4 separate regions of the Homo sapiens genome follow, and all the other regions are linked to region 1. The links are contacts of gene promoters, found by promoter capture Hi-C in blood cells and fetal thymus (Javierre and others, 2016). All regions are on one chromosome and are shown on one strand. The core of a region is centred on a gene start or on the middle of the fragment in contact, and the rest is flanking DNA. Distances in the headings are between cores, read along the strand shown. Region 1 holds the start of STK35 (serine/threonine kinase 35). Region 2 holds the start of SNRPB (small nuclear ribonucleoprotein polypeptides B and B1). Region 3 has its middle 110 kb from the start of SIRPG. Region 4 has its middle 91 kb from the start of SIRPA.

Region 1 (7,140 bases), core at 1,916-4,415:
TGTGGAGACCAGGGTCTCACTTTGTTGCCCAGGCTGTTCCCAAACTCCTGGGCTCAAGCCATCCTCCCACCTCAGCCTCCCAAAGTGCTGGGATTACAGTCGTGAGCCATTGTGCCCTGCTGGAAGTCTTTTCAAAACAAAAACACTCACCCTGGGGAGAGGGTAGGCTTCTCAGAATGGATGGGGCACGGATGGACTTTATAAAGTTAGACATCTAATTAAAGGACTCTAGGTGATACTGATTCATGTTTCCAACTCCACTGTCAAACAACTGACTTGCAATGGGACAAAGCGTTCTCTTGGGAAAGACTTGGGGGATCTTTAAGTTGTGCAAAAGTAACAAGATTTTGGGAAACCACCCCCTCCAAACTCACCCCAAATCCTACCCACTCTTAAAAAAGTTCATCCTCAGGGTGCAGAGAACAGCATTACGCCTTCGAAAGGATCCAGGCCTCGAATCAAGACAGATCTGGGATCCCCGTCACTTAAGCTCTGAGAAATGTAAGGAAACCAGGAGTACAGTCTAACTTCCCTTTCAAGCGGATTAACCCTGATCAAGTTATTTGTTCACTTCTAAGCCTTAGTTTATTTATAGAAAAAGGATAGAATTTACTTTTGAAGTTATTACCTAAAAATTACTTCAGCACTGAGACCACAGCTGGGACTCGGATTAGTAAACTTTCTTCCCCTGGATCCTCCTGCCTCGGAAAGTCTCCTCAAACTTTCTACCGCCTCTCTCCTCTCCAAGCAGACACTTAGCTACTGGTAGTATGAAAAAGGCTTGTGAGTACTGAGTAGTTAGGATGAATACATTCCCTAACTGCAGTTAAAACCCGGAAACTAAGATAATTAGTTCCTCCAGGACTGCAAGACCTCTTGCCTCAATGTACCCCATTTTCCTTTTAAGTAAAACCACTTCCCAGCCAGCCTCTGAGGTTAAGAAAAAGATTAAGAATGTAAAACGGAGGGAAAAGATGCCGGATGCTTTGTTATGTGACAGCTCTCAGGCCACCTGTGAGGGTTGTCAGCCTGCACCCCTCAGAGGACCAAGCCAGAAGACAGTCAGTTTGCTCGGCTGCCTGGGATGAAGGGCCGGGGGCCTCAGAGGAAAAGGCAGACGAGGAAGCCACAGGAGTTTGGGGGTTGGAGCTGGAGGGTGTCAGGAAACTTGGAACCAGACAGGGAGAGGGTGTGGGTGGGTCCAGTCAAGTTTTTTCTTTTTGTTTGTTTTGGGAGGGAAAGAGAGAGGCCCTCGGGGGTGAGGAGGCTCCGCAGTTCTGCTACTAACTGAACCCGACCCCTCCTCCACTCCCCCAACCGATCTTAAAAATAGAAGACGTTTAATAACCATAGCTCGCAATTCTTGAGCACTTATTAAGTTAATGGTTAGCACTTAAACGAGCTCTTGTTATGGAAACACCAGCCAACTTTAGGCCCAGGGACTGATCTTAGGACCTGAGAAGAGAGGGCCGAATGCCTGGGCCCAGGAAAGGAGGGTGTGTCAGGGCACAGGGTGACAGGGACCAGGTCTGAGGCCTAGGAAGGCCAGGAACAGTGTGGGCCAAGCCGTCCGGAGAGCAGGGGGTCCAGGCCCTGCGTGGGTGGAAAGGCCCGCGGTGCTCCTACCTTTCAGCGAGGTCTCCACCAGGCGCAGGTAAAGCTGCGAGCTCTTGTTGCCGTGACTCATGCGCTGGGCTAACCCATTGCGCTGCAGGACGCACTCCTCAAACTGCACGACGTTCTGGTGGCGCCGCTTGAGGCTGGTGAGGGCCCAGAATTCAGCCAGCGCCAGCTCCACGTTCTCGGGGGCGTCGCAGCGGATCTTCTTGACCGCCACCCGGGCCCCGCTGCGCCCGGCCACTGCCTCATAAACCACGCCGTAGCTGCCGCGCCCGATCTCCGCCAACAGGCTGTAACGCGGCCGCGCGGACCCGCCACCGCCCTCAGGCCGTCGCCGCGCCAGGAAGGCCTCGCCCGGGGCCTCGGCCGCCACCGGATCCATGGCCCGGGCCGCCGCCGCCGGCCTCAGCTTCGTGCTGGGCGCCCGCGGCACTGGGCTTCGCCTTTTCCGCTCCGGGCTTTGTGTACCTCTGCGGGCGCCGTCCTTCCCCGTTTCCATGGCTGCGGGCGGCGGGGGGAGCAGCAACGGCGCTGCCCGGGCCCCCCCTGCCTCATCCCTCCGTCCGGCCCTGGGACGCGGAGGAGCCGGACCTTGGATTGTGACCTGCGGGCGAAAGAATCGGTTAAACGGCCAGGCCAAGGCGGGGAGGCCAGGAGCGTAGGCCGCGGGGCGTCCCACCTCCTCCTCCCCCGGCCGCCGCGGCCCCTTTAAGACGGAAGCCACCGCCGCTGATTGAACGGGGGAGGGGAGGGGAAAGCGGGAAAGACCGAACCACTGGGCAGCAGCTCAGAGGGGGAACCGGAAAGAAAAGCACAAACTCTCCGCTCTCTCTGTTAGCTTGTCATGTAGCGATAGGAAAAAGAAGAGCCAGCAAGCTTCACGCCTTCTGAAAACCGCTTAGAGACGCGATTTGGCCGGCGGAAATATTTTTCTTTGCTTGGCCCCCTCTGTGACGCTCCTCCCCGCGCCCCGCCTTGTGTTCGCCCGGGTGTAAACAGTCCATTGAATTAAGCCCTAGCGGAGCCCAGCGGACCGACCCAAGTCCCCGAGGGCGACGGGTAGAAGGGATTGGCTGAAAAGTTCGGCTTCTCGGAGTGCGACTGGCCGAGGACCCGATTTCCCTTCCCAAGCGCGGAGGCAGTGGCAGTAACTCCAGCCTCGGCGCTGGCCTTCAGTCCTCCAACGGCGCCCTTACCTGGCCCGCGCACCTCCACTTCCGGGCGGCCCGTTTCCCCCCTGGAGCCCCTGCCTGGGGATGGTCCGCTCCGGGCCCGGGCTGCCTCCGGGACCGAGCAGCGCGGGAGGTGGCGGCCCGAGCCCGGCGTGTAGCGGATCCTTCTGCTGCCGCGGCGCTCGCTGGGGAAGCCTGGGCTCCTAGGCTCCCGTGGCTTTCCACGTGTTCGCGCCAGCTGAGCCCTTTACATAACCTCTTTACATAAGCTGCACCTCCCGCCGGCGCCCGGGCCAGCGGAGACTCCTGGTGGCCCATCCCCCGGGACGCCAGCCGAGTGAGCCCTGCACCGCCCGGTCCTGCAAAGGTCGACGGAGCAGCCGCAGCCGAGCGCACCGGCACGCCTTGCCGGGACCCAATCACTGGCGAGAACACCCAGCCAACAAAAAATAGGCGCGAAATTCCCGTGATCCGCGGCGGGCTCCGGGTCTCCGCAGCGGCCCGCGCATCACTATCCCTTCTCGCCTGATCTGCGTGAAGACCAACCGTCCGCAGTAGGCGCCTAATAAATACTGACTGGGTGATTGTCTTGGTCGTTTGATTCATAGCTCTGTCCTGGGAACCTCAGGGACTGGGTTGGAATCCCGACCTTCCCTTCTACCAGCCCAGTGATCTTGTGCAAATCATTGACCCACCCTGAGCATCCGTTTATCTAATGATCCTCTGCAAAATGGATAGAATGGGCTTTAATTCCCAGGAATGATAGACCCAAATGAAATACCTAGATGGAGGCTAATTGGGTGTGGGGCTGTTAGTACCCAAAGCTCCCATTTAGGCACAGATTTTTGAATATTTTGTTCTGTATTTTGTATTCCAGTGTAGGCCTAGTGGGTGCCCAGTGTTTGTTAACTGAATCTACAGATGTTTATTGAACACCCGTAATGTGCTAGGCACCATTCCAAGTCGCTGGGGAAAGAGCAATAGACAAGGCAGTTTCTGCCTTGGTTGAGGTTCTGTGCCACTGCAGGAGACAAACCACATGGGTGGCCTTGGGCAAGTTAGTCAACCTTCTTGTGTATTTGTTCCTTACCTGTAAGAAGATCCACAGAGGTTATACAGGTAAAGCACTTAGGACAGCCTTGCACACAATGTTAAGTATTATTAAATAAATGCACAGGATAATTTTTGCCAGTGGTAAGTGTGATGGAGAAAAAGAATGAGCTAAAGAGTGCTCACTGGATACAGGCCATTTCTTATAATGTATTTGGTCGCTGAAAACCTCTTAACTTTTTTGTGATTAAATTTCAAATTTACACATAAATTTCAAGAATCGTAAAGATCATATACTTTTCCACTAGAATAACAAATTGTTATATTTTGCTGCATATCCATATCCTCTCGTGTATGTGTATATATACACACAAATACATATTGTGTGTGGATATCTATATGGTATATACCCCAAAAGAAAGGAAATCAGTATACGGTATATAGATATTCACACACACACATATATAATGTATATATTCTTTTTTACTACATCATTTTAGAGTTTCCAACATCAAACTCCTTTATCCTAAATATATGTGTGTGTTTCCTTAAAAAAAAGACATTATCTGGCATAATCTCAGTACAGTGGTCAAAAATCAGGAATTTTAACAATGATACAATTGTTTTATTTAATACACTCCATCCATATTTAAATTTTGCTAATGGTCCCAATAATGTCCTTTATAGCTATTCCCCAGGATCCAATTCAGGATCAGACGTTGCACTGAGTTGTCATGCCTCTTTAGTTTCTTTTAATCTGGAAGGGCAGTTAGTTATCCAGCCTTTCTTTGTCTTTCATGACCTTGACATTTTTGAAGAATACTGGCGAGTTATATTGTAGAATGTCCCTAAATTTTTATTCATCTGTGTTTTCTTATTAGTTTCAGAGTATCCATTTTTCTCTCCTCCCCCACCCCCCACCAACCCATCCCTTGCTATTCTGAGAGGGTATGCATTTTTTGGCAGGACTACTGCTGAAAAAAGTTGCCTCCTCAGGGCCTTTCATCAGGAGGCACATGGCATTGTGTTTGTCCCAGTATTCGTGGTGTTAACTTCCATCATTTGGTTGAGGTGGTGTAGGAGTAGTTACACTCTACCATAAAGTTACGATTTTTCCTTCTGTAACTATTAAGTATTCTGTGGGAAGATATTTTGAGACTATTTAAATATCCTCTTCTTTAGACTCTTACCCACTGGTTTCAGAATTCATGGTGATTCTTGCTTGAAACAATTATTACAGTTGCAAAATGGTGATCAGAAGGTCTTTTTAACCATAACCTTTTTTCTATTTCTGTGAAGAATGTCATTGGTATTTTGATAGGGATTGCATTGACTCTTTAGATTGCTTTGGGTAGTATGGACATTTTAACCAATGTTGATTCTTCCTATCCATGAACATGAAATATCTTTCCATTTTTTGTGTGTCCTCTTCAATTTCTTTAATCAGTGTTTTATAGTTTTCATTATAGAGATCTTTCATTTCTTTAAATTAATTCCTAGGTATTTTTATTTATGGCTATTGTAAATGGGATTACTTTTTAAATTTCTTTTTCAGATTGTTCACTGTTAACATATAGAAATGCTACTGATTTTTGTATGTTGATTTTGTATCCTGCAACTGTACGGAATTTGTTTATCAGTTCTAACAGTTTTTTGGTGGAGTCTTTAGGTTTTTCCAAATATAAGATATAATATGCAAACAAGGATAATTTAACTTTTTCCTTTCCTATTTGGATGCCCTTTATTTCTTTCTCTTGCCTGATTGCTCTAGCTAGTACTTCTAGTACTTCTAGTACTGTGTTGAATAACAGTGGTGAAAGTGGGCATCCTTGTTGTATTCCAGATCTTAAAGGCTTTCAGTTTTTCCCCATTCAGTATGGTACTAGCTGTGGGTTTGTCATATATGGCTTTTATTATGTGGGGGTATTTTCCTTCTATTCCCAGTTTTTTTTAGGGTTTTTATCATGAAACCATGTTGAATTTTATCAAATGCTTTTTCAGCATCAATTGAAATGATAGTATGGTTTTTGTCCTTCATTCCGACAGCCTTATTTTATCTTAATTACCTCTTTAAAGACCTTATCTTCAAATATAGGCACATTCTAAGGTACTGGGAATTATAACTTCAACATGAATTTGGAGTGAGGAGGGACACAATTCAGTCCATAATAGCCTCTTTGGCATTTGACATTTGAATTGAAACCTGAATGTCAAGAACCCAGCTCTGAAACCGAATGGGAAGTCATTCCAAGAAGAAAGAAGAACAAGTACAAAAGCCATGAGATGGATACAAGCTTGTGAAACCAGCCATGTGGTAAGATTTTAAAATGGTACAACCACTTTGGGAAAAAAAAAAAAAACCAGTTTGGCAGTTTCTTATAAAGTTAAATATATGTCTACCCTGTGGCCCAGCAATTCCATGGGTCTCAGGTAAATGAAAACTTCTGTTAATAAAGCAACTTGTATAGGAATTCACAGTGGCTTTTCCCATAAGAATTCCAAACTGGAAAATGCTGCAGTGTTCAGCAATAAATGAATGGATAAACAAATTGTGGTATTCCCATACAATGAAATGTTGCTGAGGGTGTGTTGATGGGGGGAGGAATAAAGTATTGATACAACAGCATGTATGAATCAAAATAATTATGCTGAGTGAAAGAGGCCAGGCACAAGAGAGTACCTGCTAGATGATTCTATATACAATTCTTAACAATACAAACTAATTTGTAGTGACAGAAAGCAGATCAGTAGTTGGGGTAGGAAGGGTGGATAGAAAACAAAAGGACATAAAACTTTTTGGGGTGATGGGTTATCTAGACTGTAGTAATAGTTTCAAGATAGGAATATATTAAAACACTTCAAATTGTACCCTTTATATTAGGTGTATTTATGTAAATCAGTTTTACAACTTAATAAAGCTATAAAAAAATTGGAAAAGAACACATACTATAATTCCATTAATATAAAGTCAACCAACAATAGTCTAGAGTGGCAGAAATCGTATCAGTGGTTGTTTTTCAGGTGGGAATTGATTGCTGAGGGCCACAGGGGAATTTTCTGGGTGATGGAATTTTATTGTGTGTAAATTGTACCACGACAAAGTTGAATTAAAACATAAAAAAAAAAAAAAAAAAGCCAAAACCCTGTAGCTGCGAACACTTGTGTCTTTACTTAGAAGTTTCTAAGGACAGAAGGCTGCATTGTGTGGCCCTGGCCCCATTCCTGTATCACTGGCTTCGTAGGTTTAGCACAGCCAGCAGTGTCTTTCCTCCTGGCTAGTTTTCCTATCTGATTTTGT
Region 2 (7,140 bases), core at 3,853-6,352, 370 kb before region 1:
TATCTTTGGAAAATAATTTTTTTGGGGGGTGGGGATCGAGTCTTGCTTTGTTGCCCAGGCTGGAGTGCAATGGCACGATCTCAGCTCACGGCAACATCCACCTCCCTGGTTCAAGCATTTCTCCCTGCCTCAGCCTCCTGAGTAGCTGGGATTATAGGCACCCGCCACCACAGCCGGCTAATTTTTGTATTTTTAGAGATGGGGTTTCACCATGTTGCCAGGCTGGCCTTGAACTCCTGACCTCAGGTGATCCGCCTGCCTCAGCCTCCCAAAGTGCTGGGATTAAAGGCATGAGCCACCATCCCTGGCAAAATAATTCTTTAATTTAAATTACTGTATGGTTTCTGTCTCCCTGTCGAACGTAGATTGATACAAGTGTGAAGGTATATGTGTGTGTTTTTAAAATGAGGGAAAAGACATGAATTTTGACTGCATATATTTGGTGAGCCCAGAGATAAGCCAAATAAATAATGCAAGTCAAAACTATTAATTATGAATACTCAGCTGGGGCTGTGACCCTGAATCTAGACACAGAAATCTAATGGTCTACATCAGAGGTTGGCAAACTACAGCCTAAATGCCAATCCTTGCTGATCACATGTTTTTGTGTGGCCTTGAGCCACACAAAATGTAAATGGTCTTTACATTTACATTTACACAAAATGTAAATGGTCTTTACATTTTAAATGGTCGCAAAGAATTTAAAGGATAATAATATTTTGTGACATCTATTTGTATCCATAAATAACATTTTATTGGAACCCAGCCACACTCATTTGCTAGGTATTGAGTATAGCTGCTTCCATGGTACATGGTAAAGTTGAGTAATTGCAACAGAGACCAAATGGCTCGATAGCCCTAAAATGCTCTCTGCCCTTAACAAAAAAAATATTGGAAACTAACCAGTCTTATACATATTTTAAAAAAGTTTGCCCGCCCCTGATCTAGACTGAAACTTGGGACCATTTTATCAAGTAAATACCAGATGAATTGCCTGTTTAATCCCCGGCTCTGAATTCATGACCTCTTTTCCCTTATTTGTAGATTGGCAAACTAATTGAGTTGCAAGGCATCTAGAATAGCCAAAACAACCTTGAAAAAGAAAAAGGAGGAGGATTCACACTTTTTCTGACTTCATATAGATCAAAGGAATAGAATTGGAAGTCCAGAAATAAAACCATGTGTCAATGGTCAAATGATTTTCCACTAGGGTGCCAAGATTATTCAGTGGGGGAAAGAAGAGTCTTTTTAACAAATGATGCTGAGCTAACTGTATATCTACTTAGAAAAGAATACAGTTTGACCCTACCTTATACCATATATAAAATATGAACTAAAAATATATCAAAAATCTAAATGTAAGAGCTAAAACTATAAAACTATTAGAAGAAAACAAAGGGGTAAATCTTCATAATCTTAGATTTGGCAGAAAAGATTTTTCTTATTGCACCAAAAACATGAGCAACAACAACAACAAAAAGATAAATTAGACTTCATCCAAATTAAAAAACTTTTGTACAGGATATTACCAAGAAAGTGAAAAGGCCAGGCATGGTGGCTCATGCCCGTAATCCCAGCAGTTTGGGAGGCTGAAGTGGGTGGATTGCTTGAATCCAGCTTGGGCAACGTGGTGAAACCCTGTCTCTACAAAAAAAAAAAAAAATAACAAAAATTAGCCACCGTGGTGGCATGCATCTGTAGTCCCAGCTACTCGGAAGGCTGAGGTGGGAGAATCGCTTGAGCATTGGAGGTCAGGCTGCAGTGAGCTGTGATCGCACCACTGCACTGCAGCCTGGGTGATGGGGTGAGACTCTGTCTCAAAAAAAAAAAAAAAAAAAAAAACTCACAGAATGGGAGAAAACCTGTATAAATCATATATCTGACAAGGAACTTGTATCTGTAATGTAGAAAGAATTCTTACAACTCAATAATAAAAGTCAAATGGTCCAATTAAAAAATGAGAAAAGGATCTGAATGGGCATTTCTCCAAGGATGATATATAAATGGCCAACAAGCACATGAAAAGATGTTCAACATCATTAGTCATGAGGGAAATGCAAATCAAAACCACGATGAAATTGATAGCACTTCACATTAAGATGGCTTGAATCAAAAAGTCAGATAATAACAAATATGGGTGAAGATGTGGAGAAATCAGAACCCTCATACGCCACTTGTGGGAATGTATCATGGTGAAGCCACTTTGGAAAACAGTCTGGCAGTTCTTCAAATGGTTAATCAGAATTATCATATGACTCAGAAATTCCACTCCTATCTGGATACCAAAGAGGAATGAAAGCATGTCCACGTGAAGACTTGTACACGATGTTTACAGCAGCATTATTTATAACAGCCAAAAGGTGGAAGCAATCCAAATGTTCGTCATTTGATGAACTGATAAAATATGGTAGTTCCCTCCTTATCTGAGGAGGTTATATTCCAAGATCACCAGTGGATTCATGGAACGGCAGATACTACCAAACCCTATATATACTATTTTCTCTTATACATACATAGCTATGATAAAGTTTAATTTATAAATTAGGTACAGTAAGAGATTAACAATACTAATAGAACAGTTATAAAAATATACTGTAATAAAAGTTATATGAATGTGGTCTCAAAATATCTTGTACTGTACTCACCTATTTTTATACTGCAGTTGATTGTGGGTAACTGAAACCACAGAAAGTGAAAGATGGATATGGGGGGACTACTGTACATCCATACAATGGAATGTTATTTGGCCATAAAAAGGAATGGAGTATTGATACGTGTCATGACATGGATGAGCCTTAAAAACATTGTGCTAAGTGAAAGAAGGTAGTCACAAAAGACCACGTATTATTATATGATTCCCTTTATATACATTTTCTAGAATGTCCTTCATAATATTCATCCTTCTGATAGACCTGAGTGTAGGTTCAGGTCTCTGCTCACATACCACTCCTCAGAGAAGTTTCCCCTGACCACCTAGCCAAAACTGTACCCTATCCCTCTCAGTTCCTCTGCCTTTATTTATTTTTTTCATATCACTCTAATGTTACATTGCATACTTATTTATTTGGTTTACTATGTCTTTCTCAGTAGGATGTAAAGCTCCGTGAGGGAAAGGACTCTATCCCAATAATGGTGCATGGCCTTAGTAGATGCTAAATAAAAATGATTTTAAATGCATGCATGAATGAAGTGTTAGGCAGCTGGGTAAGGTGGGGGCAAATGAACAGCTGAGGAGCCAGACGGACCTATATTCCCACTCTGACTCCGCCACTTTGGGCAACATAATTCATTTCTATGAGGCTTCGCCTCTTCATCTACAGGTGACAGGAAACGGGACAACAGAACACACCCTTTAGAGATGGTGTGAAGATGGCAAAGCACCAAGGTGGAAGCTCTCCTTGCTGGGTTTGAGGAACAGCAAGGAGATTAGTGTGACTGGAGAAGGATGAATGAGGGCAATGTTGACGGAGATGAATGAGGTTGGAGAGGAGCGCAGAGCTAGATTTTATTCCATGTGTGCTGGGAAGTTTTTGGTAAGTGGAGACCAGGACATGACATCATCTGATATCCCAGTACGTTTAGAAGGATCCCTCTGGCTGCCGTGAGAACAAGAAAGGAAGCAAAGAGACAAGTTACGGGCTCGTTCAATGATCCAAGACAGAGACGATGGTGGCTATGACTAGAGTGGACGCAATGGAGTGGGTGACAACAATCATATTCAAGATAATTTGAAGGTGGGGGCCACAGGATTTGCTGATGAATTTGATTATTCGATGGCAGAGAAAGAGAAGAATGAAATATGCTTCAAATTTGTCATTTTCTTTTTTTTCTTTTTTAATCCAAGAAACTTCGGGGATGGGGAACACTGGTGAAGTGGTTTTAGAAACAGTGAATAGAATCAAGAATTCAGTTTTCAACATGTTAAATTTGGTATACCTATTAGACATTCACATCACGCTGGCAGCTGGATATAAAGGGCCAAGAGTTAAATGAAGAGACCAAGGTTAGAGGAACAAACTTGAAAGCCTTGGGTGTATATGCTGTATTTAAAAGTCATAGGAAGGGCCCAGTGTGATGGTTCACGCCTGTAATTCCAGCACTTTGGGAGGCCAAAGTGGGTGGATCAGGAGTTCGAGACCAGGAGTTGAGGTCAGGAGTTCGAGACCAGCCTGGCCAACATGGCAAAACCCCGTCTCTACTAAAAATACAAAAATTAGCCGAGTGTGGTGGCACAGGCCTGTATTCCCAGCTACTCGGGAGGCTGAGGCAGGAGAATCGCTTGAACCGGGGAGGCAGAGGTTGCAGTGAGCCGAGATTGTGCCACTGCACTCCAGCCTTGGTGACAGACTGAGACTCTGTCTCAAAAGAAAAAAAAAAGTCATAGAAAAAAAATAAATGTCATACGACTGGATGCGATTATCAGCAAATATGGGTAGAGCCCTTATTTTGTGCTAAAGTGTTCTAGGCACTACAGCAATGAGTAATACACAAAGAGAAAAATTCACACCCTTATGGATCTTACATTCTAATGGGGAGGGGATAATAAAATAACTAACAAAAATATACAGCGTGTTAGATAGCAAGAGGGAAATACAGGAGAGATGAGGATGAGGTGGGTGGGAAGGTTACAGGATGGCTAGGGAAATCCTCACTGGGAAAATGTTATTTAAGCTTAAACCTTGAAAGAGGTGAGGGCAGCAGCCTTCTGGTATACCTTGGGGACTACCATTCCAGGCAGAGGCGAAAGCAAATGCAGAGGGGCTGAAAAAGGAGCACGTCCAGCCAGTGGAGGGAAAAGCAAGAATAGTGACTGTAGAGGAGAGAGCCGGGGAGGGTGATGGGAAATGAGGACCGAGAGGTTAATGGGAAAGGCGGGGTGAAGAGAAATGAGTGTGACACAGAGCAGCTCTCAGTACGGATTTAAGCTAGGAAGGTGTCCAAACAGGAACTTAAGGCTCTCCTTACGTCAAAGCCGGATGTTAACGCCCAGTCCCCAGGCCCCGCCTCTGCTCGGCAGAAGCTCCGCTCCGGGGCCGGAACTCCAGGGCTAGTGAGCTGGACCGGAAGTAGGTTTCTACCCGACCGCATTTTACGTGGTGCTGCATTTCCGGTAGCGGCGGCGGGAAATCGGCTGTGGGAGAGAGGCTAGGCCTCTGAGGAGGCGAATCCGGCGGGTATCAGAGCCATCAGAACCGCCACCATGGTAAGGAGGGCACAGGCTGGCGGCGCGGGAGCTTCCGAGTCTGTTGTGGAGTGGGAACCGCGACTGATCGGGGAGGAAGCCGTGGGTTGGAGCCACTTAGGGCGGTGAAGGCCTGGGCCGAGGCCGCTCGGTCTGGGCGGGAAAGACCAGGACCTTGGCGGTTCGGCTAGGCATGGGGTCGAGGAAAAGGTTGGAACCGGTGTCGGAGGCCGAGGTCGCTCGGCAGGGGCGAGGGTAGAACCGCGGCTCTCGACACCGCTGTAGCCATAATTCCTGGGACCCAGTAGGCACTAAGTTAACTTTTGCCGAATAAATATATGTCCCGGGCTTCGGAGCAGGCACTGGAGCCGCAGGGGGACCCGGTAAAAGGCTCAGACTTGCGGAAGTTTGTGAGTCTGAGAAAGAGTTGGCGGAAGTGGGTGGAAGGGGCTCGTGGACCACGCTAGAGTCTCGCTAGGTCTGCTGGATGGAGAGGAGGGCGGAGGAGGGTGATGGCGAATGGAGGAAGAGCTCCACTCAGTTGCTCATCACGTTTCCGTGTTTGCCTGTGCCTGACTTCTCAGGCGCTGGGGCTACTCTCTGAAATATGTTTGCTTCCTTCACAGAGGTAGCTGGGGACACATAATATAATTCAGTGTGGTCATTCGGTAAAAGTAACGGCAGCGGGGCGGGGTAAGAATGTTTTCTCAAATAGATGGTTCCTGAGCAGATTCCTAAAAGATTAGCAAGAATGTTCCCGGCGAAAATGGGGGGAATATTACAGACCCGGAGAACTGAAGGAACAAAGGCTGAAGGGTAACAAGATTTAAAAAGTTACTGGATTTTTCTGCGTTTGTTGACTGAGAAAAAGTTGCTGGAGGAGAAAGGAAGAAAGAAGGGAAGACGGGAAGAATTGGCAGGAGGCTAGTTACTAAAGGCCTTGCATGTTAATTTTACCTCAGTGGTGGTGAGGCATGTCATTGAAGGATTTAATTTAATTTATTTTTATTTTTTTGAGACGGAGTTTTGCTTTTGTTGCCCAGGCTGGAGTGCGGTGGATCGATCAGGGTTCACTGCAAACTCCACCTCCCGGGTTCAAGCGATTCTCCTGCCTCAGCCTCCCAAGTAGCTGGGATTGTAGGTACCCGCCACCACACTTGGCTAATTTTTTGTATTTTTAGTAGAGACGGGGTTTCACCATGTTGGCCAGACTGGTCTCGAACTCCTGACCTCAGTTAATCCACCCACCTTGGCCTCCCAAAGTGCTGGGATTACAGCCGTGAGCCACCACACCCTGCCCACTGAAGGATTTTAACCAGCAAAATGACATAAGCTTAGTGGTGTTTAGAAAGATTGCTCTAGCTCTGGCATGTATATTCGATGGGACTGGAAGCAGGGAAACCTGGTAGGATATTGTTTGGATAACTGGTTAGAATAGGCGCTGGATTCATTTTGTCTAGGTTCCAACACAGCTTCCCAGCTGTGAAACTGGGCAAGTTACTTAACCTCTCCTAGCCTCAGTGACCTCATCTGTAAAATAGGGATAATAATGGGCCCAATTTTGGGGATTAAATGAGATGTACTGTGCTTATCACAGTGCCAGATACACAGTGAGCACCCAGTAAACATTAGTTGAGCTGGACCAGTGAATGTTGCCCTAAAGGTTCAGATCCCTTGTGGTTAGAAGCTGGTTAAAATGGTCATTGAATGGAAACTGAACCACCTAACCTGAGGGAGGCTCGCAGTATCTTTGTGTGGAGTCAAGTTTTGTTTTTGTTTTTTTGAGATGGAGTCTTTCCCTGTCACCCAGGCTGGAGTGCAGTGGCATGATCTCAGTTCACTGCAGCCTCCACCTCCCAGGTTCAAGCGATTCTCCCATCTCAGTCTCCCGAGTAGCTGGGATTACAGGCACCTGCCACCACGTGTGGCTAATTTTTGTAATTTTAGTAGAGACGGGG
Region 3 (7,140 bases), core at 2,309-4,808, 340 kb after region 1:
TACACTGTTACATGTTTCAGTTTTCATATGATATATTTTGGGGATGCATAAGGAAAGTATTGCTAAAATCAATGAATAGAACCTATTCAAGGGACTTGGAGGTTCTGACTAGTGGCAAAGATGAATGTGGGTATGGGAGAGAGTTTAGAACCCAGAAAGTGGCATTGGGGTGTAATGAGTAGGGGCTTTATTTCTGATCTGTGCCACGAATCCAGACTAAGCAGAATACCTGCCATATAGTAGGTGCTCAATAAATATTTGTGAAATTAATACATGAATAAACAAACACATGAATGAATGATTTTTTTTTCTCTACAGCCCCTGCATGCCCTGTGATACATTACCTCCAGCCCTCTCCAAGGGGTTCAAGTGGGGAGAGGCTGCAAGGACTTATAGGTCACTAAAGACCCCTTTATTCCGTCCCTGCCACCCCCATCGCGGACACGCTCCCTTCCGCACACCCTCCTGGTGTTCCTTCCCTCAGAGCTTTGGAGCTGAGTCAGGGACGAGTTTTCTTCATGAGGACTCCAGGGATGTCTTGACCCTGATGTACTGAGCTTCAGATTGGCCCTGCTTCCAACCAAGAGAATTAAACTGCTCAAGAAAAGAAGTTTCCATTCTGCCCCTGGTCATGAACAATCCTTAATTTTCAGAGCAGTTTTTACTTTTGTGCGGGGCTTTTGAAAATATGATTTCATTTTAACACACATATATTTTGAAATCACTGGGAAGTTGCATAAGCATTTTTCTCTTCTGAAATGTACAGAAAAAATACAAACAATACCCATGGACCTAACATCCTATCTTTTAAAAACAGTAACATTTGCCATTATGATCTTCAGTTCTTTAAAAACAAAAAACAAAAAACAAAACACTGTTCTGAATTTATCATTCTCAAGCATGGTTTTATAACTTTATAACATATGTATGAATCCTTAAGCAATGTATAGTATTACTTTTCATATTTTAACATTATATAGATGCTTTGACACTGTACACAGCAATCTGGAACTTTATTTTTTATGCTTAACACAGTTTGTGAGGTTTATTTCTGTTGATATATGGAGCTACATTTTATTAATTTTCCACTGTTCTGTGGTCTTCTATTGTAAGAATATGCCACAATTTATCAATTCTTCTCAAGACAGATTTTGAAGCTTCATTCAGTGTTTTGCTAGTACAACTTTGCAACAAACATTCTTTTATTTGTTTCCCTGGGCATGTGTGGGAGAGTCTGCCTTGTTCCTCTAGCTTGGTGCACAAAGCTGCAGTATTGGTATGATTTGGGAGCTTTTGTTACACAAAAAAAATTTCCAATTGTTGCTTAAGTTTTACTCTTTCCATTTATCCCTTTCATCTCGCTATATATATATATATATATATATATATATATATATATATACACACACACATATATATACACATATATATATACACATATATATACACATATATATATACACATATATATACACATATATGTATACACATATATATACACATATATGTATACACATATATATACACATATATGTATACACATATATATACACATATATATACACATATATATACACATATATATACACATATATATACACATATTATATACACATATATATACACATATATACACATATATATACACATATATATATACACATATATATATACACATATATATATATACACATATATATATAATATTTTTGAATGTTTATTGCATTTTTTAAATAGATACCTTTTAGGAAGTTAAAGAGTTAAGGAGTTTTCCTTTCTTCTATTCCGATATTAATGTATTTTAAAATCAAACAAAAGCAAAAGAAATCATCACCAGCAGACTTGAATTATAAGAAATACTAGTGGACACCCTTCAGGCACAAAGAAAATGACACCAGATGTAAATCTGGATCCATACACAAGAATGAAGAACAGAAAAAGTAAATAGATGCATAAATTTAAAAGACATTTAAACAAAATCTATAGATGATAAGTGAATGTTTAAAGCTAAAAATAATAACGCAGTGTGGATATTATGATAATAACGCATTAATATCATATAATACCTGATACAATGGCACAAAGGCTGGGAGAGGGAATTGGATGTACACAGCCAGAGTATTCCTATATTATACATACAGTGGTATAAATATTGGGGCTTCTTTTTCAGGATCACTGTATATTTTTATATTTTTTCATGTTGTCTTTTATGTCATTTACAAACAGCTTTGTTTTTAATATAAACCTTGTGCACTTTTATTAAATTTATCTTTTTAAGACTTAAATGTAAGATCTGGAACTATAAAAAGAAGAAAACTTGGGAAAAGCTCTTCTGGACACTGGCTGAGACAGAGACGGAGTCTCACTCCATCGCCCAGGCTGGGGTGCAGTGGCACGATCTAGGTTCACTGCAACCTCCGCCTCCCAGGTTCTAGTAATTCTCCTGCCTCAGCCTCCCAAAGAGCTGGGATTACAGGCGCACACCATCACATCTTGTTATATTTTTCTGCTGGTGTGTGTGCACACGTGTGTGTATGCATTATAGATGGTAGGAATCTTATTTTTTTATAGATGATAGGAATCTTATCTTTTCTCTGGAAGGATTAATTATCCAGCACCCCCTGATATCCACTGCCAGCTTTGCTATATAGCGAGTGTCTATAGATCTGTGGTTCCTTCGATGAGCTCTGTGTTCCACTGATCTACTTGTCTAGCTCTCTGTCAATACAGGCAAATTAAATTGTGCTTCACTTTATTGCACTTCACAGACACTGCGTTTTTCACAAATTGACGGTTTGTGGCAACCCTGCATTGAGCAAGTCTATTGGTGCCATGTTTCCAACAGCATGTGCCCACTCCGTGTCTCTGTCACATTTTGGTAATTCTTGCAATATTTCAAATTTTAATAATTATTATATCTGATCTGAGGATCTGTGATTAGTGTAATGGTCTTGTGGCTCCGCGAACCGTGTCCTTATGAAACAGCACACTTGATGGAAAATGTCTTGTGTGTTCTGACTGCTCCACCTACTGGCCGTTCCCCCGTCTTGCTCCCTCTCCTCAGGCCTCCCTACTTAGCCTGAGGCACAGGGAGAGGCATTGGCCTGAAATTAGGCCAATTAATAACCCTGCAACGGCCTCTAAGTGCTCAAGTGAAAGCGAGAGTTGCAAATCGCTCACTTTAAATCAAATCTAGAAATGATGAAGCTTAGTAAAAAAAGGCTTGCCCAAAGCTGAGACAGGCTGAAAGCTAGGCTTCTTGCACCAGACACTCAGCCAGCTGTGAATGCCAAGGAAAAGTTTTTGAAGGAGATTAAAAATACTACTCCAGTGAGCACATGACTGATAAGAAAGCAACACAGTCTTATTGCTGATAAGGAGAAAATTTTAGTGGTCTCGAGAGATGATCAAACTAGCCACAACATTCCCCTGCAATATCTCCGAGGTATGCTTGTGCCTGGCCTAGCATAGCTCCACAGTAAGTTTTGATATCTTTTGGGCAAGTCATCTCACCTTTTCTTATCCAAAATTGTTGTGACTATTCTTGGCTTAAATGCATTTTAGACTCACTTTATCAACTTTCATGAAAAATCCTTTTAGATTTATTAATTGATTCCATGGAATTCATATATTATTTTGGAGACATTTACATTTTTCCAGTATTGAGACTTCCCATTTATGGGCATGGTATACCTCTATTTATTTAGGTTTTCTTTTATGAAGTTCAGTTTACAATTTTACAGTTTTTTTCTCTATAATGGTCTTTTGCATCGTTAGTTAGAGACGCCTTTAATATATTCTAGTTTATGGAATCTTTAAAATTTATTATTACTTTTTTCAGTGGTTGTTGACTACTGAATAGGATTGCAATTGAGTTTTGAACATCAATCTTAGAGCTGGAAAGCTTATGAAATTCTCTTACTAGTGCTAATAGTATGGATATTCTTTTTATATATAACTTTTTTTTTTTTTTTTTTTTTTTTTTTTTTTTTTAAGATGGAGTCTCACTTTGTTGCCCAGGCTGGAGTGCAGTGGTGTGATCTTGGCTCACTGCAACCTCTGCCTCCCAGGCTCAAGCGATTCTCCTGTCTCAGCCTCCCAAGTAGTTGGGATTACAGGCGCATGCCACCATGCCAGGAGACAGGGTTCCACTGTGTTGACCAGGCTGGTCTCAAACTCCTGACCTCTAGTGATCCACCATCCTCACCTCCCAAAGTGCTGGGATTACAGGTGTAAGCCACCCCACCTGGCCTTTGTGTGTAACTCCTATAACATTCGTGTAATGATCTAAATTAGTGTTTATCTTTCTCAAAGTTACATGTACACACTAAGAGTCAAATAAATAGTTATATAAGTTTTACATATAAAAATTGGAGTCTCCCTAACATCCAACCATATTCTATCTCCCAGAAGCAACTATTCTCAATTTTTAATAGATTATCTTAGACTTTTACTGCCATATCTCATATAACATGTTCATATTGCCACTTCTTCATTTTTCAGTATTAGGCGTTACTTTTGACTTCCCACAATTACAGATGGTAATATAATGCTCCACCATTGCTGACTTAATGCCACACGTGAACACTTTCTATTCCCCATCAACTGAATATGATTATATCATAATTTGGGATAATTTAAGAGTCGATGTCTATATTGTAATAAGTGTTTGAATATTCTTACTTTCTTTTTTTTTTTTTTTTTTTGAGATGGGGTCTCACTCTGTCGCCCAGGCTAGCGTGCAATGGTGCAATTTTGGCTCACTGCAATCTCTGCCCCCTGGGTTCAAGCAATTCTCCTGCCTCAGCCTCCCTAGTAGCTGGAATTACAGGTGTGCACCACCACGGCTGGCTAATTTTTGTATTTTTAGTAGAGACAGAGTTTCACCATGTTGGCCAGGCTGGTCTCGAACTCCTGACCTCAATTGATCCACCCACCTCAGCCTCCCAAAGTGCTGGGATTACAGACATGAACCTCCCCACCCGGCTGAACATTATTTCCAGCTGGGTCTGGTAATATTCCTAGCTTTTGCTTATGTTCAGTCTCTCCTGTGTATGTTTGTGTAATCACCACTATAGTCAAAATACAGACAATTCCATAACCATAAAGGTCTCCCTGGTGCTACCTCATTATAGTGACACCCACCCTCACCATACTAAGTCTCTGGCAAATGCTAACCTCTTCTATATCTCTGTAATTTTGACAATGTTATATAAATGGGATCATACAGTATGTAACATTTTGAGTTTGATTTTTCACTCAACATAATGCCTTTGAGATCCTTACAAGTTGTTGCATATATAAATAATTTATTTTTTTATTGCTGAGTGTTATTTTATTGTATGGATGCATACTGTTTGTTTAGCCATTCACTTGTAAGACAAGTTTGTCTTACACTGGTTGTTTCCAGTGTTTTGCTGTTACAAATAAATCTGCTACAAACATTTGTGCACGGTTTTTTGTGTGTACATAAGTTTTCATTTTTCTGGGACAAATGCATGGGAGGGCAATTGCTGGTTCATGTAGTATAGTGAGTGTATGCTTAGTTCTTTTTAAGAAGTTGACAACCAGTTTTATAGAGTGGGTGTATTATTTTACATTCCCATTTTCAATGTATTAGATATTCAGTTTCCCCGCATCCTAGCCAGCATTTGATATTGTCACTATGTTTTACTATAACTGTTCTATTAGGTACATAGTAATAATATCTCATTATGATCTTAATTTGCATTTTCCTGATGGTTAGCGATGTAAGCATCTTTTATGTGTTTATTTTCTATCTATATATCCTTGTTGATAAAATGTCTCTTTATGTCTTTCACCCATTGTGATATTGTGAAATATATATTTGGTCTTCAACCCTGTTTCCTGCCAAACAACCCCTAAAATCCTTAGACTCTCCAAAGAGATGTCTTTTTGTGTCTTAATGAATTGACTGATGGCTGGGAGCACCTCCGTAGCTTCAGGATGGCGACTGGTCACCTGAAGAGTAAGTCGATTAAACGATTTAATCAATTATGCCTACATAATGAAGCTTCTGTAAAAACCCAAAAGGACTGGGTTCAGAGAGCTTCTGGACAGCTGAACACATACAAGTTCCTGAAAAGTGCTGCACCTGCGGACGTCATGGAAGCTCCGTGTCCCTTCCCCATTCCTCTCCCTATGCATCTCTTCATCTATATCCTTTATAATAAACTGGCAAACTTAAGTGTTTCCCTGAGTTCTGTGGGCCGCTCTAGCAAATTAATTAAACACAAGGAAGAGGTCGTGAGATCTCTGATTCATAGCCAGTGAGTCAGAAGCACATTCCTTGCAATTGGCATTGGAAGTGGGGAGAAGTTCCATGGGACTGAGTGCTCATCCCCGTGGTGTCTGACGTTACCTCCAGATAGATAGCATCAGATTAGAATTGGATTGAGGACACCCAGCTGGTGTCTGCTGCAGAATTGATTGCTTGCTTGTTGGTGGAGAAGAAATCTCCCACATTTGGTCACAGAAGTCTTCTGTGTTGATTGTTGCTATATGAGTGCAGAGGAAAAACAGTTTGAGTTTTCCCACCTTTACCCACTTGTAATGGAAGTTTTTGTCTTGTTTTGTTGTTTTTAACTGTTGAGTTTTGAGAGAGATATCCTAGATTTGAACCCTTTGTCAGATGGGTGGTTTGCAAATATTTTCACCCGGTCAGTAGCTTTGTTTTCATCCTTAACATGGTATTTTGGAGAGCGAAAGTTTTAAATTTTGATGAAATCCAACTTATCAATTTTTAAAATTGATCATGCTTTTGATGTCAGGTCTAAGAATCTGCCATCGAGCCTTAGATCCTGAAGATTTTCTCCTAAACATTTTATAGTTTTATGTTTTATCTTTGAACCTACGATCTATTTTGAGATAATTTTTGTATAATGTATGGTATGAGGTTTCGGTTGAGGTTCATTTTTTGTTTATGGATATCCAGCACCTTTTGTTGAAAAGACTGTTTCACTTGTGGAATCAATCCTTCCTCCATTGAATTGCTTTTGCTACTTTGAAAAATCAAGTGTCTGTACTTGTACGGGGCTGTTTCCAGGTTTTCTATTTTGTACCATCGATCTATGTGTCTGTTCCTCTGCCAATATCACAAAGTTTTGATTACTACATCTT
Region 4 (7,140 bases), core at 3,326-5,825, 300 kb after region 1:
CCCATGCTCCGGGGCTGTCATCCATAAACAGTCCCTGAGCTTCACATGTGTGGGTTTCACAGCACAGCTCTGGAATCTGACAGTCGAGGGTTTGAATCTCAGCCTTGCACCTACTCTCTGTGTGGCCCGGAGCAAGTCATTTAACCTCTCTGGGTTTCTGCTTCCTCGTCTGTGATCCTCACTCAGTGGGATACTGCGGAGATCAAGTGAGATATGTTCATTTAGTGCTTGGCACAGTGCCTGGTGTGTGGCAAACCCCATTACTGTTTCACACAACACAAAATAATTCGGACACTTGCTGTTGGCATAGGAATGATTAAAAGATATACGGTATAGGAACATAACAAATAATAAAAAAGGAAAGATTATTTTGATGACAGAGTGGAAGATGTGTTAGGAAGGAGAAGACTGGTATAGAAACATCTCTGCTAGGAACAGTGTTTGGCTGTTGGTAGCAAAAACAACAACAACAACAACAAAACACCTAACCATGGAATAGATTTTAGTTGGTCCTCAATACCCATGCTCCCCTTCTTCCTTAGTCAACAAAATCCCTAATTTTCATCAGAATACATGGCTTGCCTCCTGCAATAAAGATTACAGTTTCCAGTTTCCCTTCCATATCCTAGGTATGCCCATGTAAGTTCTGGCCAATGGAAAATGTTGTGTGTGACTTCCAGAAAATGTCTTAAAAGGGAAGGTAAACACCTTCCTCCACCAGTCCTCCACACTTTCTGGAATTTGAGACATGATGACTACATCTCAAGCAGCTCGGACCATGTGATAATTTAAAGATGGCTGTGGATTCTTTGATCCTCCTCCCTTTGAGAGGAGTCAATTTCCCCTGTACTTAAATCTGGGCTGACCTGTGACTTCTTTGACCAATAGAGTATGGTGGAAATGATGTCACGCCCACTCCAGGCCTAACCTCTAGGAGGACTGGCAGTTTCTGCTATGGCCTCTGGGAGCCATGAGCTGCCATGAAAAAGGTCAAACTACTCTGCTGGAGACACCCACCTGGAGAAGCCCTGGGATTCCATGGAGAGGCAGACGGACCCAGCTGAGCTCAGTGTTCCAGCCATCCCCACGAAAGCACCAGGAACCTGAGTGAAACCATCTCGATCCTCCAGCATAGCACAATCAGCAGCTGAAGATCACTGAGTGACTCTAGTCGGCGCTCCATGGATCACTGAAGGATCACCCAGCTGAGCCCTGCGCAAATTTCTGACTCACAAAACTGTAGACGATACAATGGTTGTTGTTTGGGGGCAGTTTGTTATGCTGTAGCAATAAATAGCCAGAAGAGACCAAGAGGCAGAAGTTGTTTGCTGAAAATAATGCAAAAATTATACCAGCCCTTGCCCAGCTACCTCCGGATTTCTTGCTACATGAAAAAAAAAAAAAAAATCCCTATTTGTTTAAGCCTCGTTGACACCTTGGGCTATTGCTCAGTCCTCAGTTTTCCATTTGTTAAATGGAGCATTAGCTCCTGTCTTACTACTTCCCAAAGGTGCCTGAGAGGGTAGAGTAAGAATGAAGAAGAGAAGGCCTTTTTCATGTAATATAAACAGTGCTTATGTTCCCAAAGATCAGCGAGTGACATGCTCAAACAGTTATAATATATTTAATGTGGTCATAATGGGAGTGAACTTGTCATGAACCAATTGCAATGGATTTTGGAATCAGACACGTTAGGGCTTGAGGCTCTCAGCTCTGCTAGACAAACTTCTAACTTGACAAATAGGCCAGTCATTAAATCTCTCCAAGCCTTAGTTCCCTCATCAATAAAGCACAGACGATGTGATTTCCCTCCGTTGAGTCTGTGTGAGGATTAAATTAAATGAGATTCATCCATCTATTTGATAAATATTGAATATCTCCTAGGGTCTAGGCCAAACACACTCTTGATATTGGTGGAGGCTGGTGTCCACTCACCCTTAAATCTAAATATTTAAAAATTATAAATCAGACCAATACCTTCTCTTAAATGTTCTATCCTTCTCCTCAGTAAGTATAACTTCTCAGCAGCCTGAAAGGCCAGGATTGATTTGGATTTCTTAGATACTCGCACTGAAATGTGGCGGTGCTGGGGAGAGCCAGCCCCATTCCCTGGTCGCTCATTTCCCAGCCTATAAACTGCCACCTTCCCTTCTCATCCCCAGCTCCATCCTGTACCGTGCACACCTCACCTGCATGTGTGTAGACATCCCAGGCTGCAGGTCCAATCTCCATCCACACCCTATCCTCTGCAGTGCCCCTTGGCTACACCCTGGGCTTAGTGTTCTGCCTCCAGACAATAGACCAGGAAGAGGCCTGGCAGCAGGCTTGGGACTTTTAGGTAGGGAGCTCAGGAATCCTAGGAATCTGTAGTATTCTAGACAAGGAGCAAAGACTTGGATGGGTATATCCCCTTGGCACTGCAGACTCTCTAGCCTGTGGGGATGTACGCAGCTGGAGGCTGGCCAGGGCAGAGCCCCGCTTGCCTGGGTCCAAGGATGGGCTGGTCAGCCTGTGCTAGGTGCTGCAGGTACATGAGTAGATGAAGCAGATACCACCCCTGCTTCTCCTACTCAAAGGTGAAGACACATCCCTGAAGTCAGGGCCTCAGTCTTAGCCCTATCTATAAGATGAGGGCTTACCTGATCTGACATCAGGTAATGTTGGAGACTTGGTGTACGTCCTCAGGAATGTCCTAGAAGCCAGGAGGTCAGATGAGGAGGGGCAAGCTTAAGGCCTAAGCAATCAACTTCCTCCTTGAACCTAAGGCTGGCAAGGCAGGAAGGGCACCCACCCTCTGGTCCAACTCCATCCACGCAACTCCTTCAGTGGCCATAACAACACAACTTCCCATCACACCTAGAATAAAAGTCCAGCTCCTTGCCGAGACCTGCAAAGCCTGCTACCCCCAGCTGCTGACCATCTCCAGTCTCCTTACTACTGCTCACTGAGTTCCATCCTTATGTTCATGAAACCCCACATCTACTCTCCCACCTCAAGGCCTTTGCCCTTGCTGTTTTCTCTGCTGGACACGCCCAGCTCTTTGCATGGCTAGTTCCTCTCACTGTGCAGGCCTCAGCTTACTCTCTTGCACAGAGACGTCCATTGACATCCTTTTAGGAGCAGCTCCTGTCTAGCCCCAGCTCTCTCTTGGGCGTGTCACCACTTTACATCCTTCCTAGTACAGCCAAAACTGGTGTAATGGAGTGTGCAAAAGCTTCCACTTGGGGCTGGACTGGCTGGGTCGAAACCCAGGCTGGGCCCAATATTCTCAAGTGCCGAGCCTACCTACTGCGCACTTGAGGCTATTGTTCAACCTGGTTCCCCACATATCGTGCAACCTGTTGTTTCTCCACCTATCGTGCAACCTGTTTCTCCACATATTGTTCAACTTCCTATTTCCCTTCAATAGATTATTCAACCAGCATTTTCCTATCTGTACAAGGGAGTGAGGATTACATGACCTAATGTGCATATAGCATAGAGCAGAGCCTGGCATAAGCGCTGCATTGGTGTTTGCTACGATATTAACACTTGTTGCTATTTGAAATTATTTTGTCTGTATGTTTCTTGTTTATTTCCCTCTTCTCTCTGACAGGCAAACTCCCCACAACAGCCTCCTCAACGCTGCCTCCCACAGTGCTTGGACAAAATAATTACAGCAAGATGCGGGCACTGAGCTGACTCCTTATGTAGGACATCCCAGTGCAGGTAGAGAAACTGAGGGACAGTTGGAGGTTCCTTGCCCTTGGTGATGCGGTGAGAGGGCCTGCAGGCACCAGCCCGGCCGCCCGCACCGCTTCTCGCGGACCCCAGCGGAGCCGCGCTTCTCGTGCCGCTCCTGAGGGTTTCCGCGGCGCCGGCGTTTTTGTTCCCGGCGCGTTTAAGTCGTTGAGGCCGAATCAAGCGAAGGCGGAAAAGCGGCGCGCAGCCCGCGTCAGCTGCAGTTCCGTCCCCCTGGTTCCCGGTGCGCTAACAAAGGCATTTGCATGAAAACAGGAACCCCGTCTGCAGAAAGGACTCGTTGGCGGGGTGCATCGTGCGCTCCAGTGCCCCTACCGCGGCGCCCCGCTCCCCAGGTGGGGAAGAAGCGGGGTGCGGGGACTGGCCCCAAACACGGCTCGGCCGGCGGGGACCGGCACGCTGCGGCCCGGGCGACCCCCTTCTCCGCCCCTTTCCCAGGCCGGCGGAAACGGCCGTCTCGGGCGTGGGCGCGCTTCTGCGGACTCCTCGGGACCTTTTACCCAGGCGTGCGGCCGGGGCGCCCGGGGCCTCGGGGAGCCGGCGCCAGCGTGCGGAGCGCAGCGGAGCGGAGGGAGCGGCGGGAGCGGCGTCCGTGGCTGGTCCAGGTCTGGGGCGCAGCCTCCAGGCTCGCCCTGCGCCGCTCTGGGCCTCGGCCTCTTCGCCTGTTCGACCGGGGCGCAAGCGTGTCACAGCGCCTGTCTGCAGGGGGAAGCGGGCTTCCCAGAGGGGCGCGTGGCTCGCAGAGGGGCTCCGGGAATATCCGCTCCGTTGGCCCTTTCCAGAGCTTTTCCTTAGCTGCTTCTCCTTTGAAATCCGCCTTTTTCCCAGCAGCCCTTGGAGGCAGGATAAATTAAGTGGTAAAAGCAGAGGATTAGGAACCGGGAACCCTGGATTCAAATCCTGCCCGCCGCTGACCAGCTTTGTAACCATGAGCAGGTTACTCCGCCTCTGGAGGCCTCAGCTTCCCCGTCTGTAAAATGGGGCCTAACACAGTCCAGAAAGTGCTTAGTGCCGCAGTGTCACACACCGAGTGCTTAATTCATTCTTAAAATTATCACTTCCAGCTGTGGGACAGGCGCAGGGTAGAAAGGGGTTTTCTTAAGGTCACAGGCGGGGTCAAAGGCAAACCCTCCGGGTCCTCACAAGTAAGACTTGCGAAGCAGCAAGTTCCCCAAAGGGTCTTATCCAGCCGGGTAAGGAGCGCCGGGGCATCTCCCCCCTCTCTCTCCGCGAAGACGCACAAGCAATGGCTGGCGAACCTACTGCCTGGAATGGGGTTCTTGGGTCGAGACCTTTAAAAAAATAAAGAAGAGGAAGAAGAAAGAAAGAAAACAAACAAACATGCACGCAAAAACGGAATGCCAGAGCCTTTGATCTAGGAGCCAGCTTGCTATTCAGGGCCGACCACCGTCTCGCCGCAGTTCCTCCCCGGGAAGGAAGCCTCGCGCTGCCCTCCGGTGGCAGGCGAGGTAGTGTCGCCTGGGCGCAACTCACAAGCAGGGGTTTACCGGAGAAGCCAGCTTCGCTCTGCGCGGGTGGGGGCTGTGGGGGAGAGAGGAGGGAAAATCGGAATTGTTCCCTGACTGCTGTTTTTTGGTCCCGGTGGATCTTGGGAGTCTTGGAAAGAGAATAATAAGGCTCTCTGCATTTGAAAGGCATAGGAGTTTTTACATTCTGGTTTTATTTATTTTTGAATGGATAACACATTTACACGATTCAAAAGATAAAAAAGAGGATAGCGTGAAAAGGAAGTCTCGCTTCCACTCTTGTTCCCCAGGCACCCAGTTCCCCTTCCTAGAGACAGCCATTGTTACATGTTTCTGTGTACCCACCCGGAGACAGTCCATGCAAATGCAAGTATTTTACAGGATCAATAGTAGCTTGCTCTGTATACTCTTCTGCCTCTTGCTGCTTCGCTTAAAAATGCATCATGGAGTTTGTTCCATGTTGATTCACATAGGGCTGCCTCGTTCTTTTGAACAGCTGCATAATATTCCATTGTTTGGCTCTCCTGTAATTATTTGATCAGTGTTCTATTGATGAGCCTTGAGGCTGCTTCTAATCTTCTGTAATCACAGTGTGTTACAACAAATAAGCACCTACATGCATTGTTATGCCTAGGTGCCAGTGAGGCACATAGCTATTGCGGTATAACAAACCACTCCGAAATTCAGTGGCTTTAAATAGAAAGCTTTTGGTATTGCTCATGTGGGTCAGCTGGGTAGCACTGCTGATCTGGGCCAAGCTCAGCTAACTTTGCATTTGCTCCTTGTGTCTGGGATCAGAAAGGGTGGGTCAGCTGGGGCTGGTTTATTTAGGATGGTCTAAATCACATGTCTGGTAGTTGACTGGCTATCAGCTAGGGTTAGAGGGGTGTTCAGGCTATGTGTCCGTCAACATCTGATAACATGCAGTGCCTCCTGAGACTGTATAACTGGTGTGAATTTACATCCATTACATTCTGTTGGTGCAAACATGTCACAAGCCAGCCCAGATTCAAGAGGTGGGGAAATAGAAATCACTTCTCCCAGGGAGGAGCAGCAAAGTCACACGGCAGAGTATGATGCAAGGGCCCTGAGGTATTGTGGCCATTTAAAAATATATTTATAATGTTATAGTTAGCATTATGGTGATAACATTACCTTTGGATATAAACATTACCTTTGCCATTACCTGACAGACGTTACCTCAAGCCTCAAGGCTCATCAACAGAAGACTGATCAAATAATTAACAACAATAATAATTAACAACAACAATAATTTCAACAGAAGACTGATCAAATAATTAACTAGGCCATCAGGGTTGACATTAAGTGATATTGATATTGATAGCATATTCTCTTGATATAACTTTTTGAGAATGACACTGTACCTCTGTGGTTTTCCTCCCCCAAACCAGTCTAATAATAACCCCAGTCTAATAATGAGAATAGCCTCACAGAATAGCCGCTATGCACAGCCTCCACTTAAGGGATGGGGAGTTATGCTTCACTTCCTTGAGGGGGCAGTATGTAATAAGTTATTTGGAATTCTTCTGCTACTGGTTTATTCAGTCATTTATTCTATCCGTGTGCACTCATGGATATTTATTTTGTACTTTTCATTATAATCCAATACTATGTTATTTATATTGTTGCTTAAATTGTTCCAGTTTTGGCGCCTGGGAGCTCTCTCTATTGGCTCCTGTTTCCCTTTGCCATAATTTTTTGTTATGTTTTTGAGCCCTTCCTTACTTTCTGGCACTAAAGCTGCTCCAGACTCATCTTGCATATTTTCTTCCCAGCCCTAGAATCAGCCGTTTCTCCAGGGAGCCCGGTTCCTTTCACTGGAGAATGTTCTTAGAAACAGATCTGGATGGTGGGTTTGCATGTTGCTATTGGGGACCCACTACCAGGGGGC

Evidence for each region. Contacts are between HindIII fragments. The CHiCAGO score rates a contact against its expected background, and 5 or more counts as called.
Region 2: a contact is called between the fragment with the promoter of SNRPB here and the fragment with the promoter of STK35 in region 1, in 7 of 17 cell types (erythroblasts, total B cells, activated CD4 T cells and 4 more). The highest score is 8.2, in erythroblasts.
Region 3: a fragment that was not itself captured here is called in contact with the fragment with the promoter of STK35 in region 1 in 1 of 17 cell types (M2 macrophages); the score reaches 5.3 in M2 macrophages.
Region 4: a fragment that was not itself captured here is called in contact with the fragment with the promoter of STK35 in region 1 in 2 of 17 cell types (naive B cells and total B cells); the score reaches 9.7 in naive B cells.

Annotation. Positions count from the first base shown.
Region 1 is chr20:2,097,852-2,104,991 of GRCh38, reverse strand. STK35 (serine/threonine kinase 35) reads right to left here and starts at 3,165. Exons shown (of 4, transcript NM_080836.4): 1 at 2,817-3,165; 2 at 1,627-2,224. The coding sequence starts at 3,110. RefSeq lists silencers at 1,750-1,799, 1,820-2,349, 2,640-2,689, 2,700-2,989, 3,090-3,279 and an enhancer at 1,436-2,404. The HindIII fragment of the contact is 3,640 bases long and covers 2,499-6,138 here.
Region 2 is chr20:2,468,751-2,475,890 of GRCh38, reverse strand. SNRPB (small nuclear ribonucleoprotein polypeptides B and B1) reads left to right here and starts at 5,102. Exons shown (of 7, transcript NM_003091.4): 1 at 5,102-5,203. The coding sequence starts at 5,201. RefSeq lists enhancers at 5,093-5,142, 5,153-5,202, 5,363-5,482. The HindIII fragment of the contact is 1,844 bases long and covers 4,674-6,517 here.
Region 3 is chr20:1,760,510-1,767,649 of GRCh38, reverse strand. No RefSeq gene overlaps it. Among named protein-coding and RNA genes, the nearest start is that of SIRPG, 110 kb to the right of the region's middle. The HindIII fragment of the contact is 697 bases long and covers 3,210-3,906 here.
Region 4 is chr20:1,800,548-1,807,687 of GRCh38, reverse strand. No RefSeq gene overlaps it. Among named protein-coding and RNA genes, the nearest start is that of SIRPA, 91 kb to the left of the region's middle. RefSeq lists a silencer at 4,067-4,316. The HindIII fragment of the contact is 2,718 bases long and covers 3,217-5,934 here.